Linked DNA regions of Homo sapiens: region 1 is linked to region 2. The links are contacts of gene promoters, found by promoter capture Hi-C in blood cells and fetal thymus (Javierre and others, 2016). All regions are on one chromosome and are shown on one strand. Each heading gives the region's core, a stretch centred on a gene start or on the middle of the fragment in contact. The rest is flanking DNA. Distances are from core to core; before and after follow the strand shown.

The links. The method cuts DNA at HindIII sites, captures the fragments that hold promoters and counts their contacts. A CHiCAGO score of 5 or more calls a contact.
Region 1: a fragment that was not itself captured here is called in contact with the fragment with the promoter of SLC9A2 in region 2 in 2 of 17 cell types (megakaryocytes and erythroblasts); the score reaches 6.3 in megakaryocytes.

The regions. Positions count from the first base shown.
Region 1 is chr2:102,232,382-102,236,402 of GRCh38, reverse strand. IL1RL2 (interleukin 1 receptor like 2) reads right to left here. Exons shown (of 12, transcript NM_003854.4): 10 at 3,279-3,440; 11 at 1,126-1,506. Among named protein-coding and RNA genes, the nearest start is that of IL1RL2, 47 kb to the right of the region's middle. RefSeq lists enhancers at 560-1,060, 1,061-1,561. The HindIII fragment of the contact is 3,960 bases long and covers 1-3,462 here.
Region 2 is chr2:102,617,580-102,621,426 of GRCh38, reverse strand. It overlaps SLC9A2 (solute carrier family 9 member A2), which reads right to left and starts at 1,874. Exons shown (of 12, transcript NM_003048.6): 1 at 1,290-1,874. The coding sequence starts at 1,578. RefSeq lists a silencer at 2,157-2,266. The HindIII fragment of the contact is 5,203 bases long and covers 735-3,847 here.

The DNA.
Region 1 (4,021 bases), core at 233-2,732, 380 kb after region 2:
TCGCCTGTGAACGAGGGCACAGCACCTCCTAACCCACCCTGCTCCCCATGCCATCCTAAGACCACAGGCCTCCTGACACCCTCTGGCTCCCTCTCTCGCCCCTGCCGGCTGGCTCTCAGGGCTGACTCCCTTCCAGCCCCCACTGACTGCTTACTAAGTCTCAGTGTCAACAACCCACAGCTTCAGAAGGTTGAGCTATGCCTAATTCCCTCAGGCCAGGGTCTTGGAAAAAAGTGATGAGGGTTTACAGCTAATTTTTAGTATTAAAAACCTTTAATCATTAAGTTATAAATTGGCCTGTGACAAGGGCACATTGGCTCATTGGAAACTGACTTTGCCTTGCTTGGACTATAATTCTATCATCTGTGTGCTAATTGCGTCTCTCACAGGCTGCTCAGAATTCTGGTTGACATGTGTCTAAAAGAGAGAGAAAAGGAATTCCTGCTTGCTTTAGTTTGACAGATAAAGCCTCTCAAACATGGAAGGGTGACCAAGAGGCAGTCATGGCCACTCCCGTGGGTCCCCACTGGTCTAGGTGACTTTTAACTTGCTTCTGGAAGCAAAGTGCTAAGGCTGTGTTTGCAGCTCTTTGTCTGCACTGACAGAGTGAGAGAGACGCAGACACAGCAAATGACCCCTGAGCATGGGGCCCTGAAGACACTGGACAGGCGTGGACAAATACTGCTATCCTTGCCAACCCTCTCCTGGTGCTAGACTGCCCTCCTGTGGTCCCCCGACAGCACAGGCTCCCATCTCAGACTCTATGGGTGCCACATCATGGGCAAACTTCCGGGCATGTCCACTGCCATTTCTAAAACCCTCCATGTCCTGTTCTCAAGGGGCCCAAGTGCTGTATCCATCCAGGCCTCAGTGAGTGGGCATGTGTCAATAAGCCCATAGGCTAAAGAGGGCCTTCTGCAGAAGCCGTGTGTTTCCCTGAAGAAGCAGCTCTGATCGAAGCAAACAAATGACAACAAACACAACAGATCCTCTCACTAGTACGCAACTGCCAGCTTCAGAGCAGACGGCCCCGATGAAACGTGTCCTCCTCCAGCTGTGAGCCACCACGCAATGATAGACCCTCCATCAGTGCGTGACAAACCTCGTGTCCTCCCACCCGCTCACCTGCGGTGCGGTAGCAAGGTGTGTGCTGCAGCAGCTGGACCGGAGGAAACGGCCGACACCTTCTGGGCGGCATGTGGTATCTCACTGTCTTCCAAAACTTGGTCTTCATACACTGTGACTGCTCCGTGAAGTCCCCATGCCACCGGATGGCACCATGCTTCTGTTTGATGTACTGAATTGACTCTGGCATGACTGTGTAGTCCTCGATTTTCTCCAGCTCAATGAGAATAACCTTCATCCCGTCCTGGATCAGGGCACTGTAGACCGCGATTTGTTCTTCTGACAGGTTCTTCAACAGGCCAAAGCCCAGCGATTCGGGGACCACAATGACAATCAGCCTCCTGCACAGCTTAACGTTTTCATCGATGACATTGGCCACGGCTGGAAATAAAGAAAGAAGGCTCAGAAGAACTCACAATTAAAACAGCCCGGGTCTTAATGCTAGTGAGAATGTTTGAAACAGGCCAGGAGAAAATTGACTTTTTTTTTTTGAAGTGAAGTCTCACTGTGTTGCCCAGGTTGGAGTGCAGGGATGCAATCTCAGCTCACTGCAACCTCCACCTCCCAGGTTCAAGCGATTCTCCTGCCTCAGCCTCCTAAGTACCTGGGATTACAGACACGTACCACCACGTCCAGCTAATTTTTGCATTTTTAGTAGAAACGGGGTTTTACCACAAGCTGGTGTTGAACTCCTGACCTCAAGTGATCTGCCCACCTCGGCCTCTCAAGGTGCTGGGGTTACAGGTGTGAGCCACCTTGCCTGGCCAAAAATGGACTTTAAAATAAACATGACTTAGTCAGGAATGGATTAATTCAAGTTTTGGGTTTTTTCTTTTTTTTAATATTTGTCACCTCTTCTGTGAAGCCTTTGTGGCTTTCCCTGGAGCCTTGGTCCTCTATAGTCATGAATCATGTTTTGCATGTGGTTTCTTTGTATGTCACTTTCCCTGGCCAACAAGTATCTGATGGTTCCTAACTCTGTATCCCCAGACTAGCTGAAGGTCTGGTGTATATTAGCAGATGAACACGTTTTTAAAAATAGATTTTAAAAGGATAGGAAAATGTAGTTAGCTGAAATGTTGCATTAATCTTGAATCTGTGTTTTCCTTTTGTTCTTTATAGTTATTTAAATGACCAGGATTTATGTGAGTAATTTAGAAACCAAATAACATGCCCTGATGATTGCTTGGGAAAGGGAGGTTTCTCTAAATACCCAGCTCTGCAGATGCTATTCAGTCTACAGTTGCCTCTCATGGGAAATAAGAATAGACTGGAACCTCCCTGAGGACAGGCCCTTCCGCTTGGCTGATTTTCATATTTCTAGTGCCTAGAATACTGTCCATCACATAGAGGTTTTCAGTAAATATTTGTTGAATAAGTGAGTGAATTGGCATTTACTGGTGACTAGAAAAGAATGTTTATTTCAGATTTCAGCCATTTTGCTGTATAGCCTTCCAAGAAGGAGAACAAAGGGACAGGAAAGCACTGTTGTGTGAGTGTCTAAAGTGTGCTGAGCTCCATGCCGGGGACCCCTTCTCAGGTTTTCTCATTCAGTTCTCTCATCTGAGTCAGGGAAGCACCCCATCCCCATTTTACAGATGAGACAACTGAGGTTGAGAGAAGTTAACTGAACTGTCCAAAGCCACCTTCCTATCAAGTGGGAAAAGTACACTAAAACTTCCATTATATTTAGGGAGGGGAGGGGGCAAGTAGGGTCGAGGTTTATAAAATCAGCTTTAAGCACGACCTGATTTACATTGTTCAAACCCATGGAAAACACCCAGCAGTTCATCTCAGGGATGTGAGGCTCAAATGACCACTCGCCACCTTTCAGTCCTTTAGCCACCACTACATCACTGGCCACCTGTTTCTGTGAATGGCTTAACCATATCCTCACTCAAAGTGAGACGCGTGCTGCTGCAAGCAGGAATCTCAGGCACTGCGGGGCAGGGAGGAGCCTAGAGCAGGCAAAGAGCTTGGGCCTAACCTCCTTGGCTGGGGGCTGGGGGCTGACGGGCAGGGGGCGCTGGTCATAGACTCTCTGTGGTTCCATGGGGAAGGCAGGCAGAGTCACCGCCATTAGTAAAGTGGAGGAACAGAGGGGTCGCTTTCCTTCTTTTATTTGTTATTTTTACACCTCACTTAAAACCCACCTTGTCCAGGGAATTCATCTCTGCCGAATATAAACAACTTATATCCACATTGTCTCTCCAACACCTCGGGCAGGATATTCAACACCAGGGCATCCACGGCATGCCTCTGGCTTTCCTTGTGGGGCTTGGGGTATAAGACATAGGCGTCATACAGCTTCCCATCTGAAAAGGAATTGGACAAGCTTGTGGAATTGTTGCTACCAAATTCTCTCATGTTAATAAACCGGAAGCCTGAGCGGCTACCATGGTGTCCTTTGGCCTGGGTTCCATGACTTCTGAGTGCCCAGTTGGCTGACTTGGTGCCAGGGGCTGCCAAGGGACATCATCTCCTCTCACAAATGGACCCCTGAGGGAGGTGGTCTTATCCCCAATGCTCAAGAGTGAAGCTGAGGCTGGGTAGGCTGCATCACATCTGCAATCCCTAACCCTACCCCTACCCCACGTCTTTTGAGTCTAAGTCCACCACTCCCTGTGATGTGGCCAGAAATGAGAATTAAAGGCAGAAGACTCGTCCAGCGCAGTGGTGCATGGCTGTAATAAACAAGCTGAAGCAGGAGGATAGCTTGAGGCCAGGAATTCAAGACTAGCCTCGGCAACATAACAAGACTCTCCAAAGAAAATAATTTTCAAAAAGTTAGCCAGGCATGATAGCTCAGGCCTGAAATCCCAGCTACTCAGGAGGCTGAAATGGGAGCTTAGGAGTTCAAGGATGTGGCCAGGCATGTGGCTCATGCCTGTAATCC
Region 2 (3,847 bases), core at 625-3,124:
TCTGAGGTTTCTGCTTTCAAAATGAGAGTTAAAGGTAGTATGAAAGTGGGTAATTTTTTTTTTTTTTTTTTTTTCCCTGAGACAAGGTATCTCTCTGTGGCCCAGGCTGGAGTGCAGTGGTGCCATTCATGGCTCACTGCAACCGCAACCTCCTGAGTTTAAGCGATCCTCCTCCCTCAGGCTCCCGCCTCAGCCTCCAAGTAACTGGGAATACATATGTGCACCACAACACCAGGCTACCTAATTAATTAATTAATTGATTGATTAATTTTTGAGACAGAGTCTTGCTTTGTTGCCCAGGCTGGAGTGCAGTGGCAATCTCGGTTCAATGCAACCTCCGCCTCCTGGGTTCAAGCAATTCCCTCCCTCAGCCTCCCGAGTAGCTGGGATTACAGGCGCCCACCACCACGCCCGGCTAATTTTTTTGTATTTTTAGTAGAGACGAGGTTTCACCATGTTGATCAGTGATCCTCGTGATCCACCTTGCCTCAGCCTCCCAAAGTGCTGGGATTACAGGCGTGAATCACCTCGCCCGGCCAATTTTTTATTTTTGTACTGTTTGGTCTTGCTATGTTGCCCATGATGATCTTGAACTCCTGGCCTCAAGGGATCCTCACGTCTGGGCCTCCCAGTGTGCTGGGATTACAGGCTGGGCCATTGTCCTGGGCCCAGAGTTAATTATTTTTAAATATGCATCTCACCTCACTGGCCTCAGCCACCCCGAAGCAAAAGCTTCCTGGAGAGTGACAGCCTCAACCCAATAGAGGGAGGAGAAAGGGCGTTCCTATTGCAGCTGCAAGCACTCAGGTGTCCCTGGTCCCCTTCCATGCACCTCATTAGTCAGGCGCACAGCAGGGTCTGTGTCACTGCCAAGGCGCCTCTCTCCTGTAGCATCCAGGGTTTTAACCACATTATGCATAGCTCCGGGGTTCGTCGGCACCTCTCTCCCTGCAGGTGAGACTGGTACACTTCAATAAACAGATCTCACTCAACTTAAGCAGAGAGCTGACAAACTTGGCGTTCCGTGCGGCAGAAGTAAGCAGCAATCGCTGAGTTTGTAGAACTTACACTTGGGGCCATTTCAAGGCCAATGTTCCCTTAAGAACCAAAACGCGAAACTGCTCTTCCAAGGGTCCTTTTCAACCAGAAGAAGCTGCTCCATCTGTCGTCCCTGCCCTGATTCAAGATGAGGCGGTCACTATCTAGAGGTCAGCTGGCTGACCCGGTCACCCTCCAGGTGTCCCCCCGAGATCGCCCCCTCCCATTCCCCACAAGTCCAGTTCGCTCACCAATCTTGGCCAGGGAGGCCAGCAGGATCCAAAGGGTGATCTCGAAGGGGATCTGCACGTGGGGGTAATCCAGCGTAAACACAGGCAGCCGGCTCTCCTCGAACAGCGTCGTTCCGGGAGCCACCACGCTCGCAGGGCTAGGCGGGCTGGAACTGGTGCCCATGGCCCTCGGCGCGTTCAGCAAGGTCTCCGCCAGGGCGCCCACGGGCCCCGCCACCTGCAGGAGCAGCAGCAACAGCATCGGAGGCAGTGGCGCCCGCAGGCTCCTCCAGTTGCCCAGTGGTTCCATGGGTGCCGCCGGTTGCCGCCAAGGGGACCGGCGGTTGGCCCTCCGAGCGCTCAACGCATCGCGCCCGGGCTGCTCAGCCCGCTCCGCCCTGCCCCGTGCAGGGCAGGGCAGCGACAGCCACCCGCCGCTGCTGCGGCACCGGGTCTCTGCAACCAGAGGGCTAGGTCCTCGCTGCGAGCAGGCGCACTGCCTGGCGAGGCACGTGCAGGGCGACGAGAGGCCGCTGCGCGTACCCTCAGCAGCCCTCAGCCGCCCTCCGCCGCCGGCCGCCTGCCCATGCCGGTGCGCTGCTCTCCAGCCGCAGCGGCAGGCCCTGCCCAGGGCGGCCCGCGGGCGGGGGCGGGGCGGGCGCGGCGCCCAAGCCGCAGGGCAGGAGGACAAGGGGACCTGGCCGGCACACCGCGCACCTGCCCGAGCCCGCGGGGAACGCGGGGCCCCAGTGACCGCGGGGGCGATGGCTGCCCTCCCTTCGCGCAGGCACCGCGCGCCAAGACCCGCCACCCCCAGAGCCAGCGAACTGTGGGTGGAATCGCCGCAACGGGCGCATGGTGGCCGGAGCTGTCTCCGCCCCGGAGGCAGCGTCGGACGTCCATCCAGTGAAGGAACCAGCGCGACCCACGAGTCGCGCCCTTCCCTCCTCCCCCGCCCCCGCAGGCTCCTCCAAGGGGACACCCCGGTGCGCTGGGCGCGCGGGGAGGCGCCACAGGCTCGCGGTCCGGAGGAGAAGCCCGGGCCGGTGGAGGAGGAGTGCTGTCACCCCAGCCTGGCGCTGCGGAGGCCAAGACAAGGCATGGGATTCTCTGGACGTACAGAAAGTTTAGGAAAGCCAAATTTTGTTTCCTTTCCGAGAGTTATCAACTCGCGCACAAGGTGCTCTGAACAGGGAAACTCCCTGCGCGGAACTCAGTGTTCCCACGCCCCCACGGAATCGGAATCCTGTTCTCTCCTCTTGCCACATTGTGCTGCTTTCACCCATTTGCTACACTGTCGCTGCCACTTTTCTTCTCCCTCCCCCAGCTCACGTAAAAAAAACCAAAACATCTTTCTCCGCTTTTAGGCTTAGAGGTGTACATGTCCAAGAGCATAAGAAATATAATTATTTCATGGAAAACCAGTGATTTGCCTCGCTCAGATTGACTTGCTCCGCTAATTACAGGACAGGCTGTGGTCAGGAAAAGAAAGGAAGCGTGATTCTTCTTCTGGATCTAAAAGGGCTTTCTCATGCAGAGCCAACCTTTCCTGTCCTTCAGAGCGCCTCCTTCACTGGTTGCGATCTCACTGTTTGAGCATCTTTATCGCCAGAAACCGAAATGAGCACAAAGGGGACTAGTTGCCATTCAATTAACTGAAAGTTTTCCCTTTGATATTTATGAAATAAAATCCTTCTCTTTTCTTAATCTTTGATGTGTCAAAACACGTGGCTTCTACTATTAAACAAACACCAGGCAGTTCGACCTTCAAAGCCGTTTTTTTTTTTTTTTTCTTTCAAAGTTCTAACATAGAAAATCAGTGAGATGTCAGCAGAGGGTACAAGAAAAAAAAATCCTCCACCTGCATAGAAGAAAATAAGGAACAGTCCTCTTTGGGTCTTCAAAGTAATGGAGGGACAAGTCCAGGCTAAAAAGAGAGAAGAATTCTGGGAGATGTTACAGAGCACTACTTCATTTGATATTTCACAAAGCATCAGTTTTTCAAAAGCGCTACAGAATTGAAACTAAAGATATTATCTTGAGAAGAATCATTGGGCATCCAAAACTCAGCCTCCCCTTCTCCTTTCACTGGAAACGTTTATTAAAGGTATGTGCCTAACATACCCCTGTGAAAAGGCAGCAAATAAGAGATTTTTAAATTTTTTGAGTATCTGTCTCTACATGGGAAGCTCAATACAAGGCACTTTACTTGCATTTTTTTGTCAATCGTAAAAATCCAAAGAGGCAGATATTTTTTACCCATTTTATAAGTGAAGAAATATAGTGTAGAAATGTGTAAAAATAAACAAATAGACTTAATCAAGTTTACATATTAAGTAAGTGTCTGGATGGAATTCACACCCAGGCCTGCCCAGGCTAACACTGGTATCATCTCACCCTCTACCCCATGACTAGTTGCCCATAAACAGCACGCTATATTCTCAGCTACTTTAAAATAAGCAGTGGAGAATATTACAGGGATTGTTCAAAAAAGTTACAGCAGGATAAAGTTTTGGTAAGTGAATCAGGCAGTTCTACAAACTTAGTGACATAGTAATAGGGAGAGGGCACATTTAGAC